Regions from separate parts of the Homo sapiens genome. Here all the other regions are linked to region 2. Evidence: promoter capture Hi-C in 16 types of primary human blood cells and fetal thymus (Javierre and others, 2016). All regions are on one chromosome and are shown on one strand. The core of a region is centred on a gene start or on the middle of the fragment in contact, and the rest is flanking DNA. Distances in the headings are between cores, read along the strand shown. Region 1 overlaps KCNQ1 (potassium voltage-gated channel subfamily Q member 1). Region 2 holds the start of CARS1 (cysteinyl-tRNA synthetase 1). Region 3 overlaps KCNQ1 (potassium voltage-gated channel subfamily Q member 1).

What was found. The method cuts DNA at HindIII sites, captures the fragments that hold promoters and counts their contacts. A CHiCAGO score of 5 or more calls a contact.
Region 1: a contact is called between a fragment that was not itself captured here and the fragment with the promoter of CARS1 in region 2, in 1 of 17 cell types (naive CD8 T cells). The highest score is 5.5, in naive CD8 T cells.
Region 3: a fragment that was not itself captured here is called in contact with the fragment with the promoter of CARS1 in region 2 in 6 of 17 cell types (naive CD8 T cells, non-activated CD4 T cells, total CD4 T cells and 3 more); the score reaches 7.4 in naive CD8 T cells.

Annotation. Positions count from the first base shown.
Region 1 is chr11:2,511,145-2,515,522 of GRCh38, forward strand. The region is part of intron 1 of KCNQ1 (potassium voltage-gated channel subfamily Q member 1); the gene reads left to right. LOC124902613 (a long non-coding RNA gene) reads right to left here and starts at 447. Exons shown (of 3, transcript XR_007062553.1): 1 at 316-447. The HindIII fragment of the contact is 8,148 bases long and covers 1-4,378 here.
Region 2 is chr11:3,054,697-3,059,029 of GRCh38, forward strand. It overlaps CARS1 (cysteinyl-tRNA synthetase 1), which reads right to left and starts at 2,727. Exons shown (of 23, transcript NM_001014437.3): 1 at 2,647-2,727. The coding sequence starts at 2,671. LOC124902615 (a long non-coding RNA gene) reads left to right here and starts at 3,928. Exons shown (of 2, transcript XR_007062555.1): 1 at 3,928-4,322. RefSeq lists an enhancer at 2,381-2,913. The HindIII fragment of the contact is 6,695 bases long and covers 1-4,333 here.
Region 3 is chr11:2,539,809-2,543,811 of GRCh38, forward strand. The region is part of intron 2 of KCNQ1 (potassium voltage-gated channel subfamily Q member 1); the gene reads left to right. Among named protein-coding and RNA genes, the nearest start is that of KCNQ1, 97 kb to the left of the region's middle. The HindIII fragment of the contact is 9,571 bases long and covers 1-4,003 here.

The DNA of each region.
Region 1 (4,378 bases), core at 448-2,947, 540 kb before region 2:
TGGGTTGGGGGCAGCAGGGACAAAAGCCAGGCATGGGATGTGGCTCTTGTGGGATGCACCTTGGGTGTGACTGTCACGGAAAAGGAGGAGACGTGGGGTGGGGAAGGGGGCAGCCCCTACTGTTCCTGGCAGCAGGGCCAGAATTGAGAGCCAGAGGTTGCCACTGGAGGGCTTCCTGGGGAGGCAGCTGGCACCGCCTGATTCCTGTTTCTGAATGCCCTCTCACTCTCCCCCACCCCCATGGAACCAGAACCACCTCGTCAGGCCCAGCAGCCCTTCAGGGTCAGTCTCTGCATGGGTGGTAATATGGCTTACCTGAGTCCTGGTCAGTCTGTGGCCTGGGAGTCCACCCTCCATGACTAGTGGTTTGTGGCAGGTGACGGGTGAGTGGTCTCCATGCTCCCAGCCGCTGTGTAGAGGTGCCAACCTGCCCCTCCTGCCAGAGCTGGGCTCCTGTTGGGCGGGACTGAGGATACCGAGACAGAAATAAAACTGCTAAATGCATCTGTTGTTGAATAATTCAATGCCCCATGCCAGGCCTGTTGCAAAATTAGCCACTTCCTCCCTCCAGGCCCATGAGTGACTCCTGGATTTGGTGAAAGCCAGGCCTAGTGGAATTGTGGCCCGGAAGGTTCTCTGGGAGCTGGGAACCTCCATGCAGGAGCCCAGGGGAGGGGGTGCTTGGCCACATGCGGGCCCCTCAATCTGCCCTGTGGAGCCCGGCCTGGCCTGCAGCCCCCTGTGCAGGGAAAAACCCGCGGTTTTCCCTGGTGGAGGGCACAGGTCAGAGCGGGCATGGACAGGGCATGAGGAAGCAGTGCAGAGGAAGCGTGAGCATTTGTCTCGGGCCAGCTGGAGAAAGGAAATGGGGCTGCTTCCTGGAGGGCAGAGACATCAGGGGCTGCGCTGTCGGGCTCGGCGTGCAAGATTTGTGTCTCATCCCAGGGTTAGGTGCCTCCCAAATGCCAGGGCTTCCCATGGGCCATACACACTCAGTCGAACAAGATTTGCACAAAACCTGGGCCATAAGCTCGCTGAGCACTTGGCCTGCCCAGCCGGTGACAATGAGAACCGCACATGCTCAGCCTTCCCTGGACTCAGGGCCCTACGGGTGCTGGAGCCGGGGCGGGAGAGGGCCGCAGGCTGCCCCTGCCTCTGCATCCTCCCCGTCGATGCCTGGGGCCACTGGGATTGGCAGAAAAGGGATGCCCCCGAGATGGGCAGCCAGGAGAACTGTCTGTCTCCTATCCCAATATGCCTACCTCCCTCTCTGAATCCCCATTTCCCCCTCATCCTTGCCCCCACACACCCAGATTTGCAATGGGACACACGGCCACCTGGGATGACAACCCCTCCCAGTCTTCCCTCAAGACAAGTGTGGCCATGACCGCATGGGGCCAGCAGGGTGTGAGTTGAAGTGTCCCGCAGTGGCTTCCGGGGATGTGCAGCCCTGCCCTGAGGCCCTCTGGCCGCCTCTTGCTCTCTGAGCAGGGATGTCCGTGCCTTGGGCCTGAGGCTGAGCTGGGCTAGGTCCCTGGGTGTCTGGGGCCACACTCTCTGGTCCAGCCTGCTGTTACAGGGGATGCCTCAGGGCCACCACTGGTCATGGAGGCTGGGGGCGCCTGCCTGTCTGCCCGCCTGGAGTTCAGGTAAACAACCCCACTGAGGAGGCACCCCTAGCCGTGGGAGTTGGCGTGTCCTGCTCCCCAGGGCGGTCTGTCCCCTTGGCGAGATCCTTGCTGTGTCAGCAGAGGGTTTTCCTGGCCCAGGGTCTTGGGGAGCAGATGATGGGGCTTTAGGAGCTCTGGCTCTGGGAAGGCAGTGGACCCTGGAGCAGGGATCTTGGGAGGATGGAGAGTTGGCGGCTCAGGAAGGAGGCTGCTCAAGCCCCGGCCTGCTCACTGGGAAGAGCGGTCCTTGGAGGAGAGAGCTCCCGAGGAGAAAGCCATGATGCTGTGCTGCGCTCTGGGCCACCAGGTCTTGTCTGGGGGGAATCCTGACCCTGTGTGATGTGAGTGCAGGGACTCCCCCACCCTCCGACCAGGACCTTTGTACTCTCCTGGCCGTGTCATTGCACAACTCCAGGGGCCGTCACTCACCTGAGCCCTCTTTGCTCTTCTTGGCTGTTCCCTGATATGGCCACGCAGAGACTATCTCTAAGTGTCAGTTCTGGACTCAGCTGGAAAGGTTTCATGACCTCAAGGGACCCATGGGACTTGAGGGTGGGGCAGCTGTTTGCCCTGTGGATCAAAGGGGAGTGTCTGGGATGGGATCCACCTGCCCTGCCCTCAAAGTGCTGGGCAGTCCCTCAGAGCCATAGAGCCTAGGGGGTCTTGGGCCCTCTTCCCCAGGGCATGGCCCAGGCACCTGCTGGCCTGAGGTCCCTGCTGGGCCCAAGGCATCCCTGCCGTGTTCAGAGTTCCACAGGCACCAGTCCACCATGCTGGGGCCTACTGGGAGAGACAGCCACCCGCCTGCTGTCGGGAGCCTCCATCACCAGAGCCTGGGGGTGTCCCAGCCACCCTGGCCGCTGTTTCTCTGCCTCCGCACCGGCCTCTCTCCTGAGTTCCATCCATCCCTGCAGGTTGGGTTCTCCTCTCTCCTCTGGGATCTGCACAGGTTGCCATTCTCTCTGCCTAGACTGGGCCTCCACCTCTGAGAAGCCCTCCCTTATTGCCCCTTCCAGTGGGCTGGGAGAGGGAGGAAGGCCAGGTGCAGAAAGAGAATTCACCTGCCCGGCTAAAGCCCCACCTGCCTATTTCAAGGCCTCTGATGCCCCCCGGCCTGCAAGGTGTGTGCATGGGGCCTGTCCCATGCTGGCTCACCCAGCTGCTCAGAGAGGCAAGTGGCTCCCGGGCCCCACAGTGACACTGGGGGACTCTTTGTCTCCATTTGGGGGGTGTGCAGGTCACTCCTGGTGCCCTGGTCAGCTTCCCCAACCTGAGCTGCCCTCAGCTCCTGGCTTGGCCCTCCACGGAGTGGGAGATGCCCCCCTCCCCTGCCATTATCGTACCTTACCTCGCTGGCGGCCATGGAGGCAGTGAGAAGAGCCGAGGGAGCTGGCCGGGGCGCATTTCCGTGCAGGACACTGGCTGCCTCCCAGCTCACTCTTAGCCTGGTCATAGAGCCCGGCAGCATCTTGCCAGGTGCCTGTGGTCCCAGATCCTGGGGCTGCCCCATCTCTGGAATATTGAGGTGTGGCTGGGGCTGATCTGAGGATGAATGTGGCTCAGGTTGCCGGGTGCCCTTGACGCATTCCCATGTCCCAGTGGGGAAACCAAGGCTCAAGGAGGCCACACAGCAGCTCCATTTCCAGGGACACCCAGTGTTCTCTGTAGTGGGTAGGAGGTTTCCCTATACAGGAGACCAAGCTACAGCAAGAAAGACTTGGCCGGGCGAGGTGGCTCATGGGCGCGGTGGCTCACGCCTGTAATCCCAGCACTTTGGGAGGCCAAGGGGATCACGAGGTCAGGAGATCAAGGCCATCCTGGCTAACACTGTGAAACCCCATCTCTACTAAAAATACAAAAAATTAGCCCGGCGTGGTGGCGGGCGCCTGTAGTCCCAGCTACTCGGGAGGCTGAGGCAGGAGAATGGCATGAACCCGGGAGGCAGAGCTTGCAGTGAGCCGAGATTGCGCCACTGCACTCCAGCCTGGGCGACAGAGCCAGACTCCGTCTCGAAAAGAGACTTGGGCTAGATGTGAGGAGGGACTTTCCCAAGTAGGGATGAACCCTGAGGACCCACACCCTGAGCCGCCAGTGGGTCGTGTTGACCTGGCAGCTCCAGGGCACCTGAGGCCTTCGCTGTCCTTCCGCACCTCGCCCCCTTCCCGAGTGGAGGTGCTCTGGGAGCTCTGCCTGCTTCCTCAAGTCTTTCTTGTTTTTTTATGTTATTTTATTTTAGATTTGAGGAGTACACATACTTGTCTGTTACGTGCGTAATGGTGGGGTTTGGGCTTCTCGTGCGCCCATCAGCCGGATATTGGACGTTATACTCAATAGGTAATTTTTCAACCCTCCCCCTCTCACCCTCTCCACCTCCCCTTTGGAGTCCCAGAGTGACCTTTCTCCGTCTTTCTGTCCAAGCATCCCATCTGTCTAGCTTCCACTCATGAGTGAGAACGTGCCGTGTTTGGTTTTCTGTTTCCGGTAGTTCACTTAGGATCATGGTCTCCAGATCCATCCGTGTTGCTGCAAAGGACATGATTTCATTCACTTCTTGGAGGCTTTAACGCCTGCCCTGTGTGAGGGAGGGCGGAGCCCCTGGCCCAGGGGCGGGGAGGCCTGTCCACCCCTCCCACCCGTCCCCGAGGCCCCTGCTGCCCAGCAAGACCACCACCCTCTGCTCCAGGACAGCGCAGCCGCCATCAGTGGGG
Region 2 (4,333 bases), core at 1,477-3,976:
CATCTGTACAAGATGCCGGCAGGATCTTCCTCAAAGGGGTTCCCCCAAGGGTGGCAGGAGATAACAGATGCAAAGCATTTAGAGCAGTGCCTGGCACAGACTCATGCTGAAAAAATGCTGGCTGTGTTATTATGAAGACCCTTGAATTAAACTGTATAAAAATTAAACTATAAGTCTGACCTGATGAGCAGCCGACCAAGTGGTATCCCAAGTCTGTGCGGAAAGGCCCTGAGGTAGGCTCCATCTACCCCAGAAACCTCAGAAATGAAACTCATCCTTCTGAAATAATCAGGCTCTTGGACAGGCACCAAGCCTATGCACCTTCAAGACCGCAAAGGAAAAGCTGTACACCCAGTGAGATCAGGAAAGAGAAATAGACCTTCTGAGTCAACTTAGGGAAGATGGTACAAAAATGATGGCCTCCTTGAAAAATCTGGGAAGATGGTCACTGAAAGCATTTACGATTGGATTTTTTTTTTTTTGAGACGGAGTCTCGCTCTGTCGCCCAGGCTGGAGTGCAGTGGCGCAATCTCGACTCACTGCAAGCTCCGCCTCCTGGGTTCACATCATTCTCCGGCCTCAGCCTCCGAGTAGTCAGGCGCCCGCCACCGCGCCCGGCTAATTTTTTTTTTATTTTTAGTAGAGACAGGGTTTCACCATGGTCTCGATCTCCTGACCTCGTGATCTGCCTGCCTCGGCCTCCCAAAGTGCTGGGATTACAGGTGTGAGCCACTGCGCCTGGCCTACGATTGGATTTTATTTCCTGTTCTCATCTTTGAGAGTGTGTGTGTGATGGGAGGAGGCGATAGTAAAGGCAGGTGGGCCATGCCCTGGGGCAGAAGAACACTGGCTGGAGATGCTGTGCGCAGGCTGAGGACTGGGCAATCTGCCTGCTGCCCTGACAGCCCGGAGAGGGCAATCCCAACCTATATGGCAAGCTCCAAAAAGAAGGCAATTCTTACAAGGCTCTGAAAACCTAAAATTCTAAAGCTATTTTTAAAAACAAGATACAAAACACTACTAATACGTCATTTACGTTCACAAATGAACAAAAACACATTTTTAGTTTGAAAACAAACAGGCCCTAACTTTCAGCACAGACACAGCACTTAATTGAGTGCCAGGCACTGTTCTACGTCCTTCCCATCTATTAATTCATTTACACTCCATGCTCCAAGGTAGGAGCCATTACGCATGGTTTGCTGTGGGGCGGGAGGCAGAGTTGGAACCCTGGCCCTTCCAGGGTGGTTCCAGAGTTGGGGCTGTTAACTATGATGCTGTTTTACAGGAATCTGGGTGACTTCTGAGGGCCGCTTGGCTCTGGGACGGGTGGAGATGGTGCTGGAATCCAGGCACACAGGTAGGGTGGTAGGCGGCGTGCCTGGAAGGTGACCACCTCCTGCCACTTGGCACAAGAGTGTAGCCCTGTCATCTGGGTGTCCCCATGCCGCCAGATTACTCGGGTTGTCATAACTACCTATCTATAACCCAATAAACCCTCAGGGGCAAAGGGCACCACCAGATGCTAAGGAAATCTTGGTACGATCTAAACTGAGGGTGGGGGCTGGAGGTGTCTTACAAGAACTTGCATCTAATTTTTGCCAGCCAAAAGAATTAAAAACTAGATACTGAGAATGTTTCCTTTGGAAAGGCTGCTCCAGACTGTTAGGAATCTGGGCTTTCTGATTCAGTCTCTTGCCTTTCCAGCACCTAAAATCTTGCTGGAGGGACAGTGAGAGAAGAACCCACTGGTCTCTCAAGGTCTACCCGCTGGTGACATGAGTGACTGGGGGAGCTGACACAGCTGTGTCCCTGGGGAACCTCCCGGGTTGGCAATAAAATGGGGCAGTAATGCTCTGACAATCAGCTTGCAGTGGACTGCCTGCGGAACTGGAGATGAAAGCCTTCGTAAAGCCCCAAGCCCTTTTACTGTGTGTACGCGTACCCCTGGCGTCCTCTGCCCCATTTCCCTAAATACCAACCTCAGGTGCCCTCCGCCCACCTCCCGGAAGCTGCCAGGTCTGGGCAGAAAACCAAAACAACCCTTGGGCCTTTGTCTCCCCCCTAAAGGCCAGCTGGGGCAAGAGGGAGCGAGGGCCCGCCCAGGCACCGGCTGGGGAAAGGCTGTTTGATGTAGGGCCACCTCCCGGGGTGAGGATGCAAGGGGACCTCGGCAGGAACCAAGTGAGGAAACTGAGGCTGGGTGGTCTGGGCAGCGCCCCGCTCGGGCTCGGGTCCCCGCGGGGTCTGTGCTCCAGCCACGGGTCTGGCAGACCCTCACGCAGGAGTCCCAGGGGTCCCAGTGGCCGTCCCTCGGAGCCGGGCACCCGTTGTCCTTCGGATCCTAGGACGTGCCACCCCTCGAACCTCAGGACCCGCCGTCCCTCAGACCCCGGGCACTGACACCCCTCAGACCCCGAGCACCCCCGCCCCTCGGACCCAAGGACGTGCCGTCCCTCAGACCCCGCGCACTGACACCCCTCAGACCTCGGGCACTGCCGCCCCTCAGACCACGGACACAGCTGCCCCTCAGAACCCATGCACCCGGGCCCCTCAGACATAAGGACTCGCTGCCCTTCGAGCCGAGCACCCAGCGCCCAGTCAGGCCCCCAGCCGCCCTCAGCCTGGCCCGGCCGCGCCGCTCACCCTGCTGCCCGGAGGAATCTGCCATGGCTGGGAATCCCGGACCCGCAGCTGCGGCTACAGACACTTCCTAGAATCTGATGCAACCGCCGCCCCGGAAGTCGCGCCCCACGCCGGGCCCGTCTTCCGGGACACGCCCGGTCGCTAGGCAACTACCAGGGGCTCCGGATGTCGCCGGCCCGGAGCATGCTGGGAGCTGTAGTTCAACCCAATGGCGACCCGCGCTCCGGAGCATCGCGCGGCCAAGCGTTCAGTGGCCGTGCTGGGAGTAGTCAGCCCAGCCGCGGGGAGACAAGCACTAAAGACTGAGCGTCCTGTAATAGGTGTTTAAGTCATGATTGCGCTAAGCGCCGTGGGGACCAGGCCCAGCCTGGAGGTCAGAGGCGGCCTCGGGACAGGGTGTGCTGGCGAGACGGGATGGTTCCCAGGAGGCCGACCTGGAGCAGGGCCTGGGGATGGGCGGGAAGAGCGCTCCAGGCCTAGGGACCGCCCTGCCAATGACCCTGCGGAAAGCAAGCCACTATGAAGTGTTGCGTGAACAGGCTTCTCCATCTCCTTCTCAGACCCCATTCTGGAGCCATCCCCAACCCCCTTAGGGCTCCTGCCTTCTGTGTGCATGATGTCACCTCCCAAGGATATCCCACCCAAGGTTCGTGCACCCATCCAAAATGAGAGGAAATGCTATTTAAGAAACAGAATTTTAATATGTCAAGAAAAATTATTAGCCAGGATTAGTGGCTCATGCCTGTAATCCCAGCACCTTGAAAGGACAAGGCAGGAGGATCATTTGAGTCCAGGAGTTTGAAGCTGCAGTGAGCTACGACTGTGCCACTGCATTCCAGCCTAGGCGACAGAGTGAGACCCTTTCTCAAAAAATAAAAAGTAAAAAATCTTCTAGTTACTTTTTGGAACCTCATGTCTAATTTCATAATAAATTCTAAGGCCGGGCACGGTGGCTCACACCTGTAATCCCAGCACTTTGGGAGGCCGAGGTGGGCGGATTATGAGGGCAAGAGATCGAGACCATCCTGGCCAACATGGTGAAACCCTGTCTCTGCTAAAAATGCAAAAATTAGCTGGACATGGTGGCGCTTGCCTGTAGTCCCAGCTACTCAGGAGGCTGAGGCAGGAGAATCGCTTGAACCAGGGAGGTGGAGGTTGCAATGAGCCGAGATTGCGCCATTGCACTCCAGCCTGGCAACAGAGTGAGACTCCGTCTCAAATAAATAAATAAATAAATAAATAAATAAAATAATAAATAAATAAATTCTAAATTCTACTGGTGGCTGGAAAAAAAAAAGAAGAAAGAGTTTGTTTACATTTCTGCAAAGATCCTGTAGCATGTGCTGTAACTTGCCCAGGATGTGGGAGGCTCTGTGAGACCCCAACTAATCCCAAAGGAGGGACCAAGTCCAGGACTTAGGGGACGAAGTTCTGGCCAGGTCCTACCATGACTCTCACAGTGCCTGTTTCTCACTCATCACTCTAGGACCATGAGTCACCCAAGCCCAGCTCGGCCACATGCCTTCCTGGGAGAAGGAACCGGAGGCGCCCAGGAGAGTCAGAAGCCTCTTAGAGATAAACATTCGGCTAAGGCTTGCCCTGCCCTTCCTTTCTTGCACTAAGAAAGCCTCCTGACATCAGGTCAGGCAAGCCAGAGTTTGGCTGTAAGACCTGGGGTGAGTTTAAC
Region 3 (4,003 bases), core at 928-3,427, 520 kb before region 2:
GTTCTGCCTGAGGGCTGGAAAGAGCCTCATCAGTGAGTGCCACGTTCGGTGGGGGTCTCTGGTGCAGGGGAGCCGGCGGGCCGGGTTGGGTTATGTCCTTGTTTTCACATCTGACCCTGGCCAGCTGGAGAGCCTCGCTTGAAGCGCAGGGCAGCAGCTGACACAACACAACGGGACGGGCTGAGCAGGCCGGGCGCAGGCAGGCTTGGGGGAGCTGGCACTGGCACTGCACGTGGGGCTCCTAGGGGGCTGCTAGGGAAGTCATTGGGGGATAATAGGATCCACCCTGTGGGGCCCACTGGCCATGGAGTACTGCACAGTGGGGTCCACCCGCTGTGTCCCTGAACAAGGAGGTAGCCTGAGGTCTCCTCTGACGCTGGGCAGCAGCCTGGGGAGGGGGCTGGGCAGGTGCCAGGGGAACCCCCTAGAGGGCATTACATTCAGATGAGTTCTAATTATGTTCTTGGCTTCCCAGGTCACACAGAGTGAAAACCAGAGGCCCTGGCCGTGCACCATTGAAGTGTGTCATCATGTGACTTTGCAGGTTGGGGGGACAGGGCTCGGTGCGGCCTCACGGGGTCAGGAGCCACGGCTCGAGCACCTCGGATCCCAGCCCCCTGTTCAGGGCCAGGCCTAGACAGCTCTTCCCACGAGATTTTCTTTCTCCCGGGTATAAAACTGGCCAACGGGATGCCTGGTGGGATGACTGGGGTACCTGGGGCCAGGGGCGGCCAGCAGCCTCCTCAGTAGCTTGTGGGAGATGCTCTCAACCCCAAGGTCAGCTCCAGCTGGCCTCAGGAGGAGTGGATGTTCCCTTCAGGTGTCTTTAGGACCCTGGCAACTGGGGACAATAGTCTCCTCCCCAAATATGCAGTCTTGACTCCTGGCCACTTGGGAAGGTGCGTTCTGGTCCTCTGGGCCTCACAGCTTTGTGCCCTCTAGGGTGGCAATGGGAGGCAGAGAGCACAGCCTGGGGACTTGCTGTGAGGGGACTGCATTTAGATTTTTAGGTGAAGCCAATCCCTGTTGGGCTGAGAAAAGTCCTGGGCGGCTGTGAGCTGGTGGTGAGTTTTCCAGACTTGGTCATGGTCAAGGTAGTTGAAGTCGGGGGTTGAAAAACACACTCGTGTCCAGCCCAGATGCCTTATGGAGAAGAGGATGCACAGGCACACACGCACAGACATATGTGCACGGATGGGCGTGTGGACGTATGCACACATAGGTACCCATGTGGACACACTCACGTGTGTGTGCACGTTCAGGCTCAGACACGTGCCTGCATGCACACGTGCACACGTGCACACCCAGCCCTGGACCTCAGGCAGGCAGGGAGAGAGACCCCCTTGGGGCCGCGTTCCATTTGCACATTTAATCCAGAAACTGTCAGCATGGGAAGCCTGGATGAGAACAAAATGTCAAGTGTGTGCCGAGAGGCGCAGGCCAGCCCCTTTTCCTGGCGGGGTGATGATCTGGTCAGTTTCCGAGCACCATGTGCTGAGAATGATGCGTGCATTCAGAGCAGCATTTGGTGGGGAACCTGGGGGAAGGGCGGGCGTCTTTATTTCATTTTAGCTTTCTTTAGCGGGGCCTGTGTCTCTTCTCACTGACCGTTTTCTGAAACTGGCTGGGGAGGGTCAGGGATGGCTGCTGTCCTCGGGGGAGGGACTGAGCTGGGCCCTTTTCGTTGGTTAGTTCTCAGTGTGGCCTACCCAGCCAGGTCCCTGGACCTGGCGGTGGCTATGAAAGCCTGGGATTGAGGACAAAGCCATGGGGACGCCGTTTTCGGGATGCTTGTGAGCAGGGCTTTGTCCCCACCGTTAGGATACTCTGAACGTTCCCAGAAAGCCCCCTTCTGCTCAAGTTCTCTTGCTTCATCTCAGGCTCAGGTGTTTTGAGTTTTTTTTTTTTTTTAAATGAGGACATCTGTTAGACCACTTAGGAGTTCTAGAACCTTTGGAAAACCCCCTCTCATCCCGGGAGTTTGTAAGAATTTGTAGTTTCTCCCCAGAGTTCATGGAGCCCCTGTCAGAGGCGCTGAGGCCCAGGTCCTGTGGCTGGTCCTCGCATAGACATCAGCTAAGGGGGTTTGGGGGCCAGTCGGCAGCCTCTGGAGGCCTCTGCACCCCTCCTGTGAAAGGCCGGCGCAGAGCTGCACCGTGGGGTCCCCTGGCTTGGGGTGGGCCTCAGAGGCTGTCGCCGTGCCTGCTGTGGCTCTCCATGGCCCTGGAGCCTGGGATTGCAGAAAGACTCCCAGACCTTGCTGGGGAAACTCCAGGATATGGGGGTATCCAGACTCCTGAGACTTCCCCGTGGGTCCACACACGTCACCAATCCTCTCTGCACCTCAGCTTCCTCATGTGTGAAATTCAGGTCATATCAGGACCTCAGTTCCTGGGGCTGTGCCGAGGGTGTGGGGACATTGGGCATGAAGGTTCTCAGTCCAGAGCCAATGGCCAAGAGGGCAAAAGGGTGTTGGTGGACGATGCCTCCTCCCCTGGCGGGGGCGGGGAAGGAAGTGCTAGGGGAAGCCGGTGTAAGGGGCCCCGTGCCCACCAAAGGCGCGCTAATTGCGAAGGAGGGGCCTCAGCCAGGAACCGCCATAGCCTCAGTTTTATTTATTCTGCTCACTCAAACAAAAAATCAGCTTTGTTGAGGTATAATTGGCATAGAGTGGAAGGCCTTGTTTAAAATGTAGGATTTGACAAATCTGGACATGGGTGTACGCCACAGGACCATCACCACAATTGAGACAGCAGGCACATCCGTCACCCCCAGAAGGCTTCTCGCTCCCGTCGCTGGCCCCTCCTCCGCTGCTCCTGGCTCCGGAGGGGACCCCTGGTCTGTCTTGTCAGTGTAGACGGTTGGCGTTTTCTGGGGCTTGTTGTCAGTGCAATCATACAGTGTGTGGTTTTTATTGTCTGGTTCCATATTTGAGAGTCATCCAGGCTGTGGCATGTAATAATTCATTCCTTTTTCATTGCTGAGCCGTATCCCATTGTACGGACGCATTGCAGTCTGTTTATCCACTTGTGTGCTGGCGGACTCTGTATAAAAGTGTTTGTAGGGACTTATATTTCCTTTCTGCATGGGTAAATACCTAGGTATAGAATGGCTGGATAATGTGGTGAGTGTATATTTTTAACTATTTAAGAAACTGGCTAACTCATCAACCCTTGACGTGGTCCGTCATTTTCATGTTAGCCAGTCTAAGAGGTGTGCGTGGCATCCTGCTGTGGTTTTAACTTTCATTTCCTAAGGACCAGTGATGTTGAATATCTTTTCACGTGTTTCATTGGCATCCAGGAAACATCTTTGGTGACATATCTTTTTAAATGTTTCACCCATTGTAAAATTGGGCTGTTTGTCATCTGAGTTGTAAAAGTTCTTTGTATATTCTGGTTACATAGATATTTGTTTTACACATGTATTCTCTAGTCGGTGGCTTTCCTTTTCATTTATTTAGTAGTATCTTTTTTTTTTGTTTGAGACTGGGTCATGCACTGTGCTCAGGCTGGAGTGCAGTGGCGTAAACGTAGCTCACTGCAACCTCGAATTCCTGGGCTCCGAGGATCCTCCCACCTCAGCCTCCCAAGTAGCTGGGACTATAGGCATGTGCCACCACAGGTGCTAACTTTTTAAAGTTCTTGTACAGACAGGGTCTCACTTTGTTGCCCAGGCTGGTGTCAAACTCCTGGCCTCAAGCGATCCCCTTGCCTCGGCCTCCCAAAGCGCTGGAATTACAGGTGTGAGCCACTGCTCCAGGCCCAATAGTATCTTTTAAAGACCAAACATTTTCAATTTTATGAAGTCAAATATAGCTTTTTCCTTTTAAATATGTTTCATGCTTTTCACATTCTATTTAGGAAATGCTTACCAAACACACTCTTACTAAGATTTTCTGCTAGTAGTTTTATAATTTTTGTGCTTACCTTTAGGCCTAGGATGCATTTTGAGTTAATTTTTCTCTATCATGTAAGACATAGGCGGAGATTCATGTGTTTTT